Regions from separate parts of the Homo sapiens genome. Here all the other regions are linked to region 3. Evidence: promoter capture Hi-C in 16 types of primary human blood cells and fetal thymus (Javierre and others, 2016). All regions are on one chromosome and are shown on one strand. The core of a region is centred on a gene start or on the middle of the fragment in contact, and the rest is flanking DNA. Distances in the headings are between cores, read along the strand shown.

Evidence for each region. The method cuts DNA at HindIII sites, captures the fragments that hold promoters and counts their contacts. A CHiCAGO score of 5 or more calls a contact.
Region 1: a fragment that was not itself captured here is called in contact with the fragment with the promoter of ACOX2 in region 3 in 6 of 17 cell types (neutrophils, total B cells, naive CD4 T cells and 3 more); the score reaches 10.2 in neutrophils.
Region 2: a contact is called between a fragment that was not itself captured here and the fragment with the promoter of ACOX2 in region 3, in 7 of 17 cell types (activated CD4 T cells, non-activated CD4 T cells, total CD4 T cells and 4 more). The highest score is 6.9, in activated CD4 T cells.

The regions. Positions count from the first base shown.
Region 1 is chr3:58,172,985-58,176,231 of GRCh38, reverse strand. LOC124909485 reads right to left here. Exons shown (of 6, transcript XM_047449435.1): 3 at 2,582-2,693. Among named protein-coding and RNA genes, the nearest start is that of FLNB-AS1, 4.0 kb to the right of the region's middle. The HindIII fragment of the contact is 7,073 bases long and covers 1-3,247 here.
Region 2 is chr3:58,190,482-58,193,684 of GRCh38, reverse strand. DNASE1L3 (deoxyribonuclease 1L3) reads left to right here. Exons shown (of 8, transcript NM_004944.4): 7 at 246-342; 8 at 882-1,428. The coding sequence ends at 998. Among named protein-coding and RNA genes, the nearest start is that of DNASE1L3, 19 kb to the left of the region's middle. The HindIII fragment of the contact is 3,053 bases long and covers 322-3,203 here.
Region 3 is chr3:58,535,331-58,538,645 of GRCh38, reverse strand. It overlaps ACOX2 (acyl-CoA oxidase 2), which reads left to right and starts at 1,456. Exons shown (of 15, transcript NM_003500.4): 1 at 1,456-1,527. LOC107984079 (a long non-coding RNA gene) reads right to left here and starts at 3,274. Exons shown (of 3, transcript XR_001740724.2): 1 at 2,332-3,274. The HindIII fragment of the contact is 2,666 bases long and covers 489-3,154 here.

The DNA of each region.
Region 1 (3,247 bases), core at 487-2,986, 360 kb after region 3:
TTCCAGTCTGCCTTGGGGAGCCGAATCTCTGCAACACTCAGGCAGTCCCTCTCTCAACAGCTTTGGGTTGAGGAAAGTTTGCCCAGGCCAGTTGCGGGGTGGATGTGCTGAGCGGGAGGGAGGCAGGGGGAGATGCCTTTCTGGAGTTCATCTGATTTTAGAATGGAAGTTTCCCATTATTTCCGTATTTTACAGATGAGAGCAGTGAGGCACAGAGAAGGTGACCGCCTGAGGTATCTCGGTTGGTAAGCAGCAGCGCTGGGCTTGGAATCCGGTTTGAACCTGCAGCATGTGACCCGCTGTTCTCTGAATGCTGCTGCTACACGAGGTTATTCTGCTGCTATGGAGCAGGCTGCTTGTAGCTGGGCCTGAAGCTGGCATTTCCAGGACTTGGTGCTTCTGCTGAGGTTTTCTCCTCCTCTGAATACACCCTGCCGGGGTTCAGCACCAGCTTTGCCCTAAGCACGTCCACTTCCTAGAAAGGGAGGGCAGCCCCCGACAGGGAGAGGTGTTTTGGTATCTTGGCAAGGCAGTCAGGGCAGAGGGAGAAACATGGGCAACAAAAGGCTTGCAGATTCTTTCATCTTTGTACTTTGTCCCGGGGAGATAAGCGAGTCCAAAATACAAAACACCCTTGGATATGTGGATCCGTGCCACAAGTCAGGCTCGTAGATTCTCCATTTCCTGCCTGCTCTTGAGAGCTCTTGAGGAAGAGAGAAAAAGGGTGTGAGGGCTGTGGAGTAGGTCTCCCTAAATTCCATGCCCATGAGCCGGTCCCCGTGGGCCTGGGGGCTCAGACAAAAGCCTTATCACGAAGCAGAGAAGGATCTCTTTGTTTAGAAAGATTCCTCCCACCATGCGTTAGGCAGCATCCTTAGGACAAAGCCAGAAAAATAAACTGAATCCAGGCTTGCCTGAGCCCTTACTGCCCCCAATGTGACATTTTTACTTCCTCAAATTATGATTTACTACTGTGAAAGGGAAAAAATACCTGCATAAGATACTAATTTCTGGGAGTTTTCATTCGTGAAATATACAGATTATACAGCCTCTTCCCCCTCCAAGTTAATGGAGATTTGGAAAGACTCCATCTCTTTCCTTGACTCTACTTCCATAGGGCTGAGAACTGAGGCTAATGCGCACTTCAGTTAACAGCAACACTCCCCATTTTTAATATAAACTTGGCGGGTTGACAAGGATCAAGCACTCATTTTGCCTTTAACCTTTATTCTACTATTTGTTTTATTTTTTTTTAGATGGAATCTCACTCTGTTGCCTAGGCCAGATGGAGTGCAGTAGCACGATCTCAGCTCACTGCAGCTTCTGCCTCCCGGGTTCAAGCAACTCTCCTGCTTCAGCCTCCTGAGTAGTGAGATTACAGGCTGCACCACAACGCCCAGCTAATTTTTCTATCTTTAGTAGAGAGGGGGTTTCACCATGTTGGCCAGGCTGGTCTGGAACTGTTGACCTTAGGTGATCCGCCTGCCTCGGCCTCCCAAAGTGCTGGGATTACAGATATGAGCCACCGCATCCGGCCTATTCTGCTAGCCTATTCTGCTAATTTTTAAGTCTGTGCAACTTTCAAGGGAAATTAAATCCCGATATGCCCTACTCATTTTACACCAAAGTCATCAAAATGTGGCTTTCAACGCCCCTTTGAAGTCCTAAAACTAGACTTGGTCAAGAGGCCCAAGTGTTTTAAGTGCATCGGAAACAAAGAAACATGTTAATAAAATGTTTCCTTCTTGGCAGCATCCTGGTGAGTGCCTCCCTGGGTTGCAAAGGGAAATGTGATGAGGAAGAGGTGGGCTTGTGTGCTTTGAAGTGGGCAGGGCCTGGGAATCTCTACAGGGCAGTGCAGCTGCTGTCCGCTTCACCTCCATCGGCCCTGTCCATTCCTGGTAGGAAAGAGGCAAAGTCAGTAGTGAAAGGTGGAAAGAAAACACAAAAGTCGGAAAGGACCTGGCACCAGGCCTGTCCGGGGTCAAGTTTCAAAGTTTTCAAGGTATTTGCACAAACAGCTGGTTTCCATAGCAGCCAAGCCCAGGTGCAGGTAAGGGTTGCCCTGTGGTCCTAGCCATTGACTGATAAAGAGGTGCATCCCACCCTGGGATGTCTTTGATGTAACAGGAGGCAGTGGCTTCTAGTGGGGAAATTTACCCCAGGGTAACATCACCATCGCTCCCATGCAGGGGACAACCAAGTGTAGCCCCAGATGCCAACAAGCAGCCAGGGGGCGGCCTTCTGCCAGGAACATCACTTCCAGCAGGTGTTGGTCACAGACAGCAGTGGCTGAGACTCTGGCAGGGAATTGTTCCTTACAGCTCCCTGTGGGCTCTTATTTGATCCTCACGACCACCCAGAGAGGTGAGGCAAGGCGACTTCCCCAGGGCCACACAGCTAATGAACGGCAGAGCCAGCGTTGAAGCTCTGGGGTGCCTGACACCAAAGCCCATGCTGTTAATTTACAAATGCTGCCTCCCCCAACAGAAAGCCGCCAGGCTTCACAGTGGAGAGACCAATGGCTGCGCCCTGTGCTCCTCTGTGGGCAAACTAGCATGATACTGTGGCCCGGCCAGACCCCACCGGGCAGAGCCTGAATGGACTCTTTGGCAAGTGGGGGAACTGCCCGCCACTGCAGAATCCCGAAGCCCACGGACCTTCTCAGATAGGAGTCCAGGAAGCAGTGCTTCCTGGTGCAGGCCACAGATAAGGCTGCTCCCTCCGGGAGGAGAGGACCTTTCCTCCACTCTCTTCCTCCCTCCTCTCAGAGGCAAACAATTGATCCCAATTGACAGCCAGGTGTCAGAAGAATCCAGTCTCCCTTCCCTGCTTTTCTCTCCACCCCCAACCCCCATCTGGAGGGCTGGGGGCCCAGCCGTGATTTCCCATCACCGTGGCACCTGCCGGGGCCTATCTGGGGACTCCTGTTTCCACAGCGGTATCACCAGGGGGTAGAGCTAGCACCCTGGGGTCAAGAAGGCAGGGGCCTAGGGTCTTCCCCCAAGTGAGCTTTGCATCTGCAAACATGTCATTGCAGCACCTGAGGTGGTAGTGCCATCTGTAAAGCGGTATCACTGCTGTGGGGTGGGGAGGAGGCGGAGACAGAGGAGGAGGAGGTGGGGGCGGAGGAGGGGTGCTAGGTACCTCGTAAGCATTCAGCAATCAAAAGCTCTTCTAGAAAAAGGAGAAACAGGCCAGTCGCAGTGGTTGACGCCTGTAATACAGCACTTTGGAAGACCAAGGC
Region 2 (3,203 bases), core at 599-3,098, 350 kb after region 3:
CAGAACATTGCCCACACTGGGAGACAGTGTCCTGGTGTCCACAGAACCATGGCAGGGACTGATCCTATTTCACAGTTGTAGGCACTGTCCTTTGGGGTCACAGGCTAAAACCAGCTCTGGACTTTGAGCGCCACATGAAAGGGCCAGACTGCTCGGTTAATTCCAGACAGCAAACACAGACCTTGGTTTGATCTCAGCAATCACAGGTTGGATTAACACAACTGTTTTCCCTCCCCTTGTTCCAGGATTGTGCTTAGAGGACAAGAAATCGTCAGTTCTGTTGTTCCCAAGTCAAACAGTGTTTTTGACTTCCAGAAAGCTTACAAGCTGACTGAAGAGGAGGTAAGGTTGCCATCTTGTCTTTCTATGCCATTGTCCTGGAAAGATGAGTTAGCTTGGGCAACATGATGAGACTCCATCTCTATGAAAAATTCAAAAAAATTAGCTGGGCATGGTGATGCATGCCTATGGTCCCAGCTACTTGGGAGGCTGAGGTGGGAGGATCACTTGAGTCCAGGAAGCGGAGGTTGCAGTGAGCCAAGATCGCACCACTGCACTCCAGGCTGGGCAACAGAGTGAGATCCTGTCTCAAAAAAAAAAAAAAAAAAAGATGGGTTGATGCCACCCTTTGAGGTCACCACTGAAGACACAACATTGGGCACTAGACCTTGACCCTCAATGCCTATGATTCTGTGATTTGAGGCCCCTCCAAAATTTCTGATCGAGCTGGTCTTGGAATGACGCTTACCAGTAAGTGTTCTGTGGGGTGACTTCGGGCATTTCCTCTCCCCTCCCTGGTCCTAAATTTGCTCATCGCTAAAATGAAAGCATCTCCCAGGCATCTCCTAATTTCCATGTCTACCTCCCCTTTCTCCTTATAGGCCCTGGATGTCAGCGACCACTTTCCAGTTGAATTTAAACTACAGTCTTCAAGGGCCTTCACCAACAGCAAAAAATCTGTCACTCTAAGGAAGAAAACAAAGAGCAAACGCTCCTAGACCCAAGGGTCTCATCTTATTAACCATTTCTTGCCTCTAAATAAAATGTCTCTAACAGATATGAACTGCTCCCTGTACTTAGGAAACAAGAGTGATCCAACTGCTTTCATTTTTTGACCTGAATTTATTCTGACTTGAGCCAAATTGGAAGGAGAATCTTTTGTATCTCTCTTGGTCTCATACCTCCCCTGAATTGTCTAAAAGGGAACCAGGGGCATTTGTAGACCAAAATGATGATCTTCATGCCCTGAGCCAGAGCCCCATCCACTGTCACTGGCCCTGCTCAACCCTGTCATGCGAGAGGCTGCAGGGGGAGGAAGAGCGTCAGCTTTCAGTCCTCATGAGGGGTCCTGTTCCACACGCAATGACCAGAAACACCAAGGCCCCAGCTGCCCCTGTGATTTGGGCAATTAACTGTTTTAAGAGTCTGCCCCCTCCTCTCTGAGGTCAGGCCACCATCACGTCTCACAGTGTTGAGGGATAAAGGCCACTCCCACCTGGTTTCTCTGCCTTCGAATTGTCCTCCAACTCAGCCAGCCCAGGAAGCATCAGTGTCATCCTCTGAAATACTAATCTGACCACAGCCCACCCTCAGTCCCACCCTCAGTCCCACCCTCTGCCCATAAATCCTTCAGCGGCTCCCATCACCATGGGAGAGAGCTCAGTCTTGGCCACCATGAAGGTCTCTGCTATCTGGCTTATTGCGCCAGCCCCACCTTCTGCCAGGGTCCCACCCTGAACCCCTGCTCCAGGAGGATGTCCTCCGCCCTGCATACCCCATGCTCTCCCTCCCTGGGGGCCTTGGCTCTGCCCCCCCCATGCCCTGCCCTATTCCAGAGCCCGGGCCAAGTGCCCCCAGCCCTCATGTGCGCCCTACCTCTATTGCAACATCCACCACATTATATTTGTCACCAAGGTCAGTGTTGGAGGTCTTTGGGGCCCCAGTGTGACAAACACCTAGTGGGCTGGCTGGGACTCGAGGATTTTGTTATCTTTCTGCAATCAAGGAGGCTCATTGGAGTCCAACAACACAGCACCATTTAGCCTGTATCCAAGGTGCCCATTTTTGTTTGTTTTGCTTTGTTTTCCCTGATGTTTCTTTGTTCAAGTCATACACGAACATGGCTAAATGTGTGAACAGTACCGAAGAATAAGCAGGGAAAAGGAATGCCGTGCCCTGACCCCATCCCCGAGTTTCCTGTCTCAGAAACAGCCCCTCTTCCCAGCTCATGTGTTTTTCCAGAGAGTCTGCACAGAAATGAGCACTATATGTAACCTTAAAAATACAAAATATAGCACACCATATGCATGGTTCCACTCTTCGCTTTTTTCCTTTAATATATTGGGGATGATGTGACTTTTGATGTAGGAGAAAAAGACCTTAAGTCTGACACTTGAAATTATGTAACATCTGACTGGGGGAATAAAATCAAAAGGGCCCTGGTTAAGCACGGGAAGCCATCTTCCTCAAATGTCCAATTAACCTCATTGGACAAAGGTCTCACTGGAATTGGTGAGGGGTGAGTGATGGCAAGGCTGCTAACACATCTGTCACCCTTCTCCTAAGCCAGAGCTCATAGTCCCAGGAAACTTACCAGTTTCCAAGGTCCAAAATGGTCAAACAAGGTCAGGCGAGGTGGCTCATGCCTGTAATCCTAGCACTTTGGGAGGCCAGCCTGGGCAACATGGCGAAACCCTGTCTCTACTAAAAATACAAAACATTAGCCAGGCATGCTGGTACACTCCTGTAGTCCCAGCTACTGGGAGGCTGAGGCACAACAATTGCTTGAACCCGGGAGGTGGAGGTTGCAGTGAGCTGAGATCGTGCCACTGTACTCCAGCCTGGGCGACAGAGTGAGACTCTGTCAAAAAAAAAAAAAAAAGTCAAGCAAGTCATAAATGGGCTTATTCCGGAGAGAGAGGCTCATCCTTCTGTCCCAAAGTACTGCAAGCTCCGAAAGCCCACATGGCTGGGATAAGAACCCTGGCTGCTGGGGCTTGAGACTCCATGCTGGGTGGGGGAGGAATGGGAAGGAGGACCAGACACTAAATGAGTCAGTCCATGGCTCTGACTTGGTCCTGACACCCTGCAGCTTCCTCCCAACAAGACATCTCTCCACTCCTGCCCAGGAGCAGGTTACTGGAGCCACAGGCATCTGCCAGCTCTTATTCCGGCCAAATTCTGACAGGCAAGAGGGCACAGCG
Region 3 (3,315 bases), core at 207-2,706:
GCTGGGTGTTAGGTACATGCAGGTTCATTATATTTTTCTCTCCACTTTTGTACAAGTTTGAAATATTTTGTAATTTAAAAAGCCTTTTTAAGCTAGAGAATTCAAGATTTCAGTGCAACAAATCAAAATGATCACATCCAAAACATACAGAACAGGGTCAGCTTCAAAGCGGATGAGAAAACAATTTAAACATGGAGAGTTTATTAAAAAGCCTTGCTCCAAGGGCCCCTGAGCAAGGCTTTCTTCACTGGGCACTTCCTGCAATCCAAGCCTTTCTCTATGGCAGAGAGGAACTAAGTCATTGCCCATGGTCAGTGATAGCATAAATCCTTGGCGGAGATGAGTCCAGGTGTAAGTAAGAACTTTCACCTCCAAACAGTGGGGCCAAGACCACCTTCCCTGAAACCACTGCCCACAGCAATGAGGACTGCCAGGAGTCTGAGCCCCACAGCTCCAGAAGGACCTACTAGGTGATAAGTTGCAAAGCTTGGGCCACAGGTCCTGCCTCTTCCTACAGACACAAGCTAGACACTACCTTGGGGATATGATGGGGTGCTGTGAGGCTCCTTACTGAGCAAATACCTTGCATTACAGGGGAGGCCAAGGCCCAGAAAGGAGTACACCTGCTCAGAGTCAACATAGCTCAGAAGTCCTGCCAGAACAGGAGCCTTGATCTCCTACTGGCCCCTTGATTTCTTTCCCAGTCTTACACAAATGTGTTACGTAATCTACTTATTGTGCAAACCCAAACAAAGTGACATCCCTCCCTGAGCCTGTTTCCTTACCTGCAAAATGGGGAGCCGCATCTGACTTTCCAAGGTGGTTATGCAGGGAGGGAACCTCTAAGCCTCTCATTCCTCTCACTAAGACCCAGCTCTCATCTGGATCCCACACACTACAGATGGATGCTTCACAAATATTTTTCCAGGGAATGTCAGGGGATGCTAAGCATAAGACAAGCCATATTTTAGAGCAGAAACATGGGGAGAGAGGAAAAACGTACACCTTACAGAGCAATCCTTTCACATGAGGACCATCTCAGGGGAGCCTATTAAGCTCGTGTGATATTAACAGCTTGAGTGCCTGAAGGGCACACAGTGAAAGATCAGGGAAGACCAGGATATCACTTTGGAAACACTGCTGGGGTACACAGCTTTTTGGTACAAGTAGTGTCAAAGGAATCCCTGGCTTTGAGATGTAAGGGCTCCAACCTCCCAGAAGTCCTCCCAGGGCAGCCCCAGCGACAGGCACAAAGGTCACACCCATGCAGGAAGAGAGGGAGGAAGGAGAGGAGCTCCATAAGCCCAGACAAGGGCTTGAGAGCAGACAAGGGCTTGAGAGCAGACAAGGGCTTGAGAGCAGACAAGGGCTTGAGAGCTGGCCAAGCAGTTTCTCTCAGCTTCTGTGTTCCAGCCCCTATGTGGGAGGAGAGAAGGGCAGGACCACAAGCCTGCCAGAGGCTGCGGCCTACAGCCGGGGAGAGGCCAGCCCGGCCTACAGTGCGGACACAGGACAGAGGGGAGCCAGGTGAGCCAGGTTTTTGGGCAGGGAGGGACTGGGAGACCCCAGAGGAGAGGGCTGCCCCCATGATGACCCTGTCCGCAGCTCCGAGAGACCCTGAGCAAGGCTTTCTTCACTGGGCACCTCCTGCAAATCAGGCCCTGCACTAAGTGTTAGGGTCACGGCATGACAGTGACAAAGATCCCGGCCCTCTTGCAGTTTCTGTGTTAGTAGCAGGGAGATGGAAGTAAACAAAAACATATGAAATGAGTAAATGATCTCAAATGTCAGAAGGGGATAAGTGAAAAGAGAAAAAGGAGAGCAGAGTGAGGAGGACAGGGAATGCCGGGGGAGGGGGCTTGGGGTTTTAAAGAGGGTGGCCTCTTTAAGGTTAAATGAGGTTCAATGCAAAAAGCCCTAGTGACATTTGAAGAAAGGGTGTTCTGGGCAGATGGAGATGCCCTAGCAAATGCTGGCAGTGGCAGGGAGGCCTGGAGCATTCAGAACAGCAAGGAGGCAGTGGCAGCAGAGCAAGGAAAAGAGGTAAGGCAGGACGAGAGGAGCCGCACTAGGGGCACTTGCAGGACTCCGGGGGGCAGAGGATGGGGCCCCTTGCCAGCACCCCCACAGCCCTGCTGGGGGTATTGGTTTGAAAGCCTCATATGAATCATTTGCTACATGTGGTTGCATGACCCTTATAAAGTCTCCTCCCTTTCCAAGGCCCACATCCTCTCCATAAAATGGTAATAACAGCAGTGCATCTGTCAGGTTGAGGTCAGGAAGGAAGGGGATCAAAAGCATGGCAGCCTGCCGGAGAGATTTACAACATACCTGCTGCAAGCTAGGAAATGCAGAGCTGGCCTCCCAGGCCTTGTGGGAGGAACATGTAAGCAAATAAGAACTTGTCCCTAACCCTAGAGCACCCAGGGAACGAGGGAGCTGAACTTTGTTCAGAGAGAACAGCAGGGGCAAAGGGTAGGAAGAGAATGAGTGGAGGCCAGGGATGAGGGCAGTAAGTTGACATAGGAGAGAGGTGAGTGGAGTAGGGTTGGGTAGACACAGCAAGGACTCCATTCCACAAACAGTGGGCCCCAAGGAGCAGATTCCAAGCAGGAGAGGAAAACAATGTGATTTGCAGTTCAAGAGTTCACCTGGCAGCTGGGAGAACAAATAAGAGGAACACTGAGGCCAAGTAAGAGATAACAGTGGCCTGGATGCTAGCCAAAGAGATAGCAAGGAGCAGATGGACTCAAGAGACTTGTGAAATAGGATGGACTGCACCTCATGGTTGCCTCACTGTGGAGGAATAGGGGCTTCTCAGAGGCCAAGCACTTGCCATGAAGGAGACAGGGTCCAACCTGGGTATGAAAGACACTCAGGGGCTCCAGGGGAACACTTCACAGGCAGGAAGAAGGCTTCCTCCCTTCAGTTCCACAATATACCTGCAGGGCTCATAGAAATGGAGCTGAGTGATCCTAGAACTTATGAGCAGTTTAATGAGACCAAGGTGCCCCCAGCAATCCTCCACAGTGGAGCTGTAGTATGGACAAGTCATGTGCTTTGTGGTCAGACCCCATCCAACTCCTGGCCATCTCCAGCTGTGTGGCTAGGGGCCACTCAACCTCTCCAGGATTATTTTCTTCAGGTGTAAGCTTCACTGACTTTTTTGTGAAGATTTCCCTAGGCAATTCATGTAACTCAAACTGCAGTGGATAGAGCCCAATCTTTGGGGTCAGGCCCTGTCCAATTTTGGCTAACAAGTATTGAACAAACATGTACCAAGCAATGGCTGCATACCATGCCTACCATGCACAC